Regions from separate parts of the Homo sapiens genome. Here all the other regions are linked to region 3. The links are contacts of gene promoters, found by promoter capture Hi-C in human tissues and cell types (Jung and others, 2019). All regions are on one chromosome and are shown on one strand. The core of a region is centred on a gene start or on the middle of the fragment in contact, and the rest is flanking DNA. Distances in the headings are between cores, read along the strand shown. Region 1 has its middle 30 kb from the start of ZHX1-C8orf76. Region 2 overlaps FAM83A (family with sequence similarity 83 member A). Region 3 holds the start of C8orf76 (chromosome 8 open reading frame 76).

The links. Contacts are between HindIII fragments. The study calls those that stand out against the background at their distance.
Region 1: a fragment that was not itself captured here is called in contact with the fragment with the promoter of C8orf76 in region 3 in 1 of the 25 tissues and cell types used here (IMR-90 fibroblasts).
Region 2: a contact is called between a fragment that was not itself captured here and the fragment with the promoter of C8orf76 in region 3, in 3 of the 25 tissues and cell types used here (IMR-90 fibroblasts, aorta and thymus).

Annotation. Positions count from the first base shown.
Region 1 is chr8:123,302,852-123,305,551 of GRCh38, reverse strand. No RefSeq gene overlaps it. Among named protein-coding and RNA genes, the nearest start is that of ZHX1-C8orf76, 30 kb to the right of the region's middle. The HindIII fragment of the contact is 3,571 bases long and covers 1-2,700 here.
Region 2 is chr8:123,188,819-123,191,518 of GRCh38, reverse strand. The region is part of intron 1 of FAM83A (family with sequence similarity 83 member A); the gene reads right to left. Among named protein-coding and RNA genes, the nearest start is that of FAM83A-AS2, 7.4 kb to the right of the region's middle. The HindIII fragment of the contact is 6,941 bases long and covers 1-2,700 here.
Region 3 is chr8:123,240,118-123,242,817 of GRCh38, reverse strand. C8orf76 (chromosome 8 open reading frame 76) reads left to right here and starts at 1,441. Exons shown (of 6, transcript NM_032847.3): 1 at 1,441-1,588. The coding sequence starts at 1,472. The region is part of intron 2 of ZHX1-C8orf76 (ZHX1-C8orf76 readthrough); the gene reads left to right. RefSeq lists a silencer at 1,535-1,654 and an enhancer at 1,155-1,655. The HindIII fragment of the contact is 18,562 bases long and covers 1-2,700 here.

The DNA of each region.
Region 1 (2,700 bases), core at 167-2,666, 63 kb before region 3:
TGCAAACAACATACCAAAGCTTATGTGACACAGTGAAACAGTGCTAAGGGGTACTTTATGACTATAAACATTTCCATTGAAAAACAAGAAAGATCTCAAATCAATAACCTAGTTTTACAACTTAAGGAACTAGAAGAAAAAAAGCAAACAACCAAAAGCTAACAGAAAAAAAGAAATATTAAAGATTAGAGCAGAGAAAAACAACATAAGGAATAGAAGAACAACAGAGAAAATTAATGAAACTAAACATTGGTTCTTTGAAACAATGCAATCAACAAACTTTTAGCTGGATGGACTAGGAAAAGATGAGAGAAGACACGTTACTAAAGTCAGAAATTAGGCCGGGCACAGTAGCTCACGCCTGTAATACCATTTTGGGAGACCAAGGCAGGTGGATCACTTGAGGTCAGGAGTTCGAGACCAGCCTAGCCAACATGGTGAAACCCTGTCTCTACTAAAAATACAAAAATTAGCCAGGTGTGGTGGGCACCTGTAATCCCAGCTACTCAGGAGGCTGAGGCAGGAGAATTGCTTGAACCTGGGAGGTGGAGGTTACATTGAGATGAGATCGGACCACTGCACTCCAGCCCGGGAGACAGAGTGAAACTCTATCTCAAAAATAAGTAAATAAATACATAAATAAATGAAATAAAGTCAGAAATGAAAATGGGGACATTATTACTGATGTTACAGAAATATAAAGGATTATAATAGTACTGTGAGCAATTATATGCCAACAAGTTGGATACACTAGATGAAATGGACACATTTACAGAAACACAAAACCTACCAACACTAAATCATAGAGAAATAGAAAATCTGAATAGATCAATAACAAAGAGACTGAATTTGTAATCAAAAATTTCCTGATAAAGAAAAACCCTGGACCTGATGGCTTCACCAGTGAATTCTAGCAAACATTTAAAGAACTATACCAATCCTCAAACTTTTCTAAAAAAAAAAAATTATTTTAACAAAGGAACACTTTCTAACTCATTCTGTAGCCAGAATTGTCCTGATACCAAATCCAAAGACAGTACCTAAGAAAACTACAGACAAATATTTGTAGTTTTCTTTAGTATCCTTTACAAACACTGATGTAAAAATCCTCCATAAAATACTAGCAAACTGAATTCAGCAGCATATTAAAAGGATTGTAGGCCAGGCGTGTGGCTCACTCCTGTAATCCTAGCACTTTGGGAGGCCAAGGTGGGTGGATCACTTGTGGTCAGGAGTTCGAGACCAGACCAGTCAACATGGTGAAACCCCATCCCCACTAAAAATACAAAAAATTAGCCGGGCGTGGTGGCTCACGCCTGTAATCCCAGCTACTTGGGAGGCTGAGGCAGGAGAATTGCTTGAACTCAGGAGGCAGAGGTTGCAGTAACTCAAGATCATGCCACTGCACTCTAGCCTGGGTGACAGAGTGAGACTCCATATCAATTAAAAAAAAAAAAAAGGATTGTACGCCATGACTAAGTAAGATGTATTCCTGGAATGCAAGGATGATTCAATATACAAAAATCGATCAATGTAATACACTAAATTAGCAGAATGAAGGGGAAAAACACATGATCATCTCAGTTGATTCAGTAAAAAGGCATTTGACAAAATTTAGCACCCTTTTATTATAAAAACACTCAACAAACTAGGAATAGCAGGAAACTACCTCAACGTAAAGCTATATGTGAAAATCCACAGCAAACATCATACCCAATTGTGAAAGACTGAAAGCTTTTCCTCCAAGATCAGGGAGAAGACAAGGAAGCCCACTTTTGCAACTTCTATTCAATGTAGTACTGGAGGTTCTAGCCAGAGCATTTAGGAAAAAAAATAAAATAAAAAGCATTTATGTTGGAAAGGAAGAAGTAAAACTATCTGTTTGCAGATAGACCTTATAAGCAGAAAAAAACAAAGATTACATGCACACACACACACACCAAAGAAAAAACTGTTAAGAGCTAGTAAGTGAATTCAGCAAAGTAGCAGGTTACCAAGTCAACACACAAAATCAACTGCATTTCTAAACACAATGAACAATCTGAAAAGGAAATTGCAAGAACAATTCCATTTACAATAGCAACAAAAAGAATAAAATATTTGATATTAGCTGAACCAAGGAGGTGAAAGACTTGTACAATGAAAACTACAAGCCATTGCTGAAAGAAATTAGTGAAGACATATATAAATTGAAACACATCCCATGTTCATGGATTAGAAGACTTAATACTGTCAATGAGGTCAACATAACCCCAAGTGATCTACAAATTCAATGCAATCCCCATTAAAACCCCAATGACTTTTCGGGATTTTTTTTTTTTTTTGCAAAAATAGGAAAACCCATTCTAAATTTCATATGGAATCTCACAACACCTTGAATAGCCAAAACCATATTGAAAAAGAAGAGCCGGGTGCCGTGGCTCACGCCTGTAATCCCAGCACTTTGGGAGGCTGAGGCGGGCAGATCACGAGGTCAGGAGATCGAGACCATCCTGACTAACACGGTGAAACCCCGTCTCTACTAAAAATACAAAAACTTAGCCAGGCACGGTGGCGGGCGCCTGTAGTCCCAGCTACTCGGGAGGCTGAGGCAGGAGAATGGTGTAAACCCGGGAGGCAGAGCTTGCAGCGAGCCGAAATCGTGCCACTGCACTCCAGCCTGGGTGACAGAGCAAGACTCCGTCTCAAAAAAAATAAAAA
Region 2 (2,700 bases), core at 141-2,640, 51 kb after region 3:
AAAAGTCTAGAAAGAGAAGGAGAGCAGAGAAGAACAAGAAGAAGCATCTCAACCGGTTCCAGAAGAGGAATAAAGTTAAGGTTATGGATTCTCAGCCACTTGGAGCTAGAGGGCACACTATGGCCACTGATTTTCAAATGCTGTTAAGCCGTGGAATCCTATCCTCAAACAAAATCCCATGTGGAGGCACCGTATATAAGCGCCTAGAGCAAGCTGCTCCCCGTGGGATGGAGAAGGGAGTCACGCTCTACCCACAGCTACTGCATCATGTGTCACAGTAGAAACTGGGGAGGGGAGTTCTAGACCTTCAGTGAGCAGGAGAGACATCTGTGTTCCTCCTGCCAAGCATTCATTCTCCCTTCTTCTGTCAACAGCATCCCAATCTGACTTTAAGTAATTGCCTCCCCTCCACAATCAATGTGGTTTGGAAGGGTCTATTGCCATTCTTTGACTGGATATGGGGAGACCACATGACCAAGGCTAGACCAATGGGAGCATGGCATCCCCTGTTGGCCACAGACATTGGTCCAGAGGTGGTCACATGATCTAAGTTATTCTAATAAGAGTCAGCCCAGGACTTTAGCTGGGACTCCTGGGAAAAGGAGGTGTTCTTTCTACGAGGTTGCTTAGCTGGTATTTTATAAGCAATGGCTGCTGGCAACCATTTTTGCTACCTCTTGGGGAGAGCCTGCCTGACAATGAAGCCATCCCTGGAGAAAGCAGCCAGGAGGTAGAGACAGAGTCCCAGCATTGTCATTTGGACACCTGGTTCCAGCCATGCCTGAGACCAGTGCCACCCTTGACTTTTCCACTGTGGATGTTAATGAATGTTTCTCTTCTTCTTAAGCTTGTTTGGGTTTACTCTCTGTCACCCAGTCATGAGTCCTTTCTAATACCTTAATTGTGATATACTGACAAGCAGCTTATTAGGCAGTCATTAAAAATGTTAATTACTGCCGGGCGCGGTGGCTCACGCCTGTAATACCAACACTTTGGGAGGCCGAGGCGGGCGGATCATTTGAGATCTGGAGCTCGAGACCAGCCTGATCAACATGGTGAAAGCTCGTCTCTACTAAAAAAAAAAAAAAAAATTAGCTGGACTGGTAGTGCACGCCTATAGTCCCAGCTACTGGGGAGGCTGAGGCAAGAGAATCGCTTGAACCCAGGAGGCAGAGGTTGCAGTGAGCCGAGATCGCACCACTGCACTCCAGCCTGGGTGACAGAAAGAGACTCTGTCTCAAAATAAAAAAATAAGAAAATACATAAAAATTTAAAATGTTAATTTTCTTTCTTTCTTTCTTCTTTCTTTCTTTCTTTTCTTTCTTTTCTTCCTCTCTCTCTTTCATTTTTTTTCTGTAGACATGGGGTTTCACTATGTTGCCCAGGCTGGTCTCGAACTGTTGGGCTTAAGCAATCCTTAAGCCTCAGCCTCCCAAATTGCTGGGATTACAGGAGTGAGCCACCCCACCTGCTCCATTATAATCTTATGGGAGCACTGTCATAGATGTGGTCTGTTAGTAACCAAAATGTCATTATTCCGTACATGATTGTAGGTAAGCCCAAAGCAAAAACTAACAGTCATGTTAGGATGGGGGATGTGAACCCAGAAAATAAAACAGGGCTCAGTTAATTTAGAAAGTTTATTTTGCCAAGGTTGAGGACATGCCCGAGGAAGTCCTGACGACATGTGCCCAAGGTGGTCGGGGCACAGCTTGATTTTATACATTTTAGGGAGACATGAGACATCAATTAATAGATGTAAGAAGTACTTTGGTTCAATCTGGAAAGGTGGGACAACTGGAAGCAAAGGCAGGAAGACTCAAAGCCAGGAGGGAGCATCCAGGCCACAGATAAGTAAGACAAAAACTGTTGCATTCTTTTGAGTTTCTGATTAGTCTTTCCAAAGGAGGCATCAGATATGCATCTATCTCAGTGAGCAGAGCGGTGACTTTGAATAGAATGGGAGGCAGGTTTGCCCTAAGCAGTTTCCAGCTTGAGTTTTCCTTAGTGATTTTGGGGGCCAAAGATACTTTCCTTTCACAGGGAATACGGCCATTCCCTTTCTTCAAGATTACCTGTAATAATAAGTTTCCACTATCTTTCTAATCATTGCAATATATTTTTTAAAACCACCGCCATCTGGGAAGTAGCCAAGGAAAGAGAGGTGTCTTACTGGCAGGCCAAACTGATGGCTGGTATCCACTTGGAATCAACTTTCTGTGATGTGGATGGATAGCTGGACAGGGGAGGGAACTCCTCAGAGATTGCTCACCCTGGGCAGGAAATCGGAAAAGATGTTCTAATAATGAGGCTGTGATCATTAGAACCATGGCCCTGTAATCACACAATTAATTGTCTTGCACACATTTAGCCTTATAGCACTGAAAGCAGCTTAGGCTTTCCCTGTTTGCTGAAAGATAAATGCCTCCTCTTCCAAGGTATTGACAAAAGAAACAATTCCCTCCCTCCCTGATAGGTCAGTAAGTACTTCCAGTTCTATGCCAATGAATCATCATTTTCCTGAGACAGGGCTGGTGAGCTGGTGATTGAACAGAGACAGGGGCAGGTTTGGAAATAACCCAGCATCTTGAATTAAAGGATGCTTGGAAATACAGGCTCACCCTGTCTAGGTTTATCTTGTTTGCTTCCTGTTGGGATTGTCTTCCAGCTGGATTAATTTGAAGCCAGTAACTGGTTTGG
Region 3 (2,700 bases), core at 192-2,691:
GGAAGAGAAACTGGTGAGAGTGAAGAGGAACAGGAAAAAAATCGGGGAAAACCTTTATGTTTATTTCCTACTGTGTAATATGGCACAATATTGTGCTGTACAGTATTGGCCAGCATTTTGTCAACAATCTTTACTTTCTAGAGTCAAGAAATATCTTAAAAGTATAAGAATTGTAGTAAATGTTAGTCTTAGAATTTTGAGATTTGGTGTTCTCCAGGTCGAATGAATGCTCCCTGATCTAGCCTCCCACGGTATATTTCTGTGTCTTTTCTTTCATAAATGCGTGAATGACTCCGGTCTTTGTTATTGGTGGTAGTGTCTCTTGTCCGGAAGCACGGAGAGTACGCATTCATTTCTGTATTTCCCAAGTTTCAGCCACATAATGACCGAAACTTAACAAGTTACTTAACCTCTCCAAACTCCAATATCTTCAAAATAGGATTTGCAAAATGGGAATCACTTTGGCTTTCATAAGGTGGTTGTTAGCCGAAAAGAAAAAATGTGCTTAACACAGTGACGGGAATGCACAGTGGTTGACAATTGGTACTTGCACCGGGCTTAGTGGCTCACGCCTATAATCCCAGCACTTTGGGAGAACGAGGTGGGCGGATCGCTTGAGATCAGGTTCGAGACCAGCCTGGGCAACGTAGGGAAACCCAGTCTCCACAAAAAATACACAAGTTAGACGGTCATGGTGGCGCGCGCCTGTAGCCCCAGCTACTTGGGGGACTGAGGCGGGATGATAGGTTGAGTCTGGGAGTTCGAGGCTGCAGTGAGCCATGATCTCACCACTGCACTCCAACCTGGGCGACAGAGCGAGACCCTGTCTCGAAATTATTTTATTTATTTTATTTTATTTTATTTTTTATTTTGAGACGAAGTTTCACTCTTGTTGCCTAGGCTGGAGTGCAATGATGCGATCTTGGCTCACCGCAACCTCCGCCTCCCGGGTTCAAGCGATTCTCCTGCCTCAGCCTACCGAGTAGCTGGGATTACAGGCGCGCGCCACTACGGCCGGCTAATTTTTGTATTTTCAGTACAGACCTGGTTACTCAATGTTGGTCAGGCTGGTCTCGAACTCCCGACCTCAAGTGATCCGCCCACCTTGGCCTCCCAAAGTGCTGGGATTACAGGCTTGAGCCACCGCGCCCGGCCTCTTATTTTAATTTTTAAAAAGGTACCTGCGAGTTTTAAACAGCTACTCTGGGGCCAGCGTGCTTTTTGATGCGTGCAGGTAAGGATCATTCTGTCCATCTCCTGACACAGAGAAGTCAAAACCTCCGTCCTGGGGTTCGGTCAGTTAGTGGGTCAGATAATCATCTCAGCTCAACCACTACTCCCAACCAGCAGCGGCCACGTCCCCGCGTCGCCCTCAAAGACTACAAGTCCCAGCGTGCCGCGCTCTGGGCCGTGGAAGCCCCGCCTTTTCCGGCGGGCCCCGCTTCCTCGTTGCCCCCGCCGCGGGCGCGAGATGGATTCCGGGTGCTGGTTGTTCGGCGGCGAGTTCGAGGACTCGGTGTTCGAGGAGAGGCCGGAGCGGCGGTCAGGACCGCCCGCGTCCTACTGCGCCAAGCTCTGCGAGCCGCAGGTGAGAAGCTGGGGCCTCTTCGCCTTATCCCGGGCCCCAGGCCTCGCCCTCCGCGGGGCCCCGGCCCCGGCCTCGGCCCCTCCGTCCGCGCGAACGCAAACCCTGGCAGGCTCCAGCGCCCGCCGCGTCCCCCGCCGTCCCTCCTCCTCCACGGGGAAGCGGCTTTCCCAGGCCCCATTCCGGGTCCATGGGCGAGAATCCCCGCGTTGTAAGCGGCTTGACTCCCACTTGGCATTTGGCCGGCCTGGCTGCTGCCGGCTGGTCTCAACGCCCCTGCCCTGCAATCTCCGGTACCTCCCGTTTGTCTTCACTGCTCTTACAGCTGGGCAGTCAGGCCTCCCAAAACGGTGACCTCCGGCAAACCCACTCTCCCCTCCCTCTTCGGCGAGCTCCCCCTGCCCGTACCAACCCCGCGCTGATGGTTAAAGTCCTTCAGTTATATCCGTTTTTCAAGGCACATCTTAAATGTCATCTCCTCTAGGAAGTCTTTTCTGATTTCGTCTTCCAGCCAAATATTTTTGTCTTTGGCCCCCTTCCCTCTATTTAGCTTCTACTTAAAGCACTTGTCAGTATTCCCACAAAGTCCTGAGACCCGGAGTGCTAAATGATCGCACCAGCATGGGTTCTTGATGCCCTTGGCAGTGCCTAACAGTTTTTATTAATAATAGTGACTCCGCGAATATTTTTGAATTAGTAGAGTATTACTTCCTATTCTTTCATGAGTGTAAATAGTTCATCAGTCAAAACTAATATTTATGGAAAATACGGAAGTGTTCCGGGCACTGTGGTGGGTTCCTTCGCATATACTGTCTCATTCGTTCCTCACAATTGTACTGACAAGATGCCAGGCACTCGATAATTACTGAATTGTGTTTTTGGTTATTTCAGTTGCATTTTCTCCTTATCACATACGATCTTTCAAAGTTACCTTCAGCCCTGGATCATGTAGACTCAAAACAGGGATTGGGCTTGGAAATCATGTGGCAGAACATTAAAAAAACTCTGGTTATGAGATAGGACTCTTGAATTCCAGTGTTGGCTTTAACCACTTGCCTTGAAGGTGTCAGCTCCTTATTTGTCCCTTCAGAAAAATAATACATGCTGGCTCACAG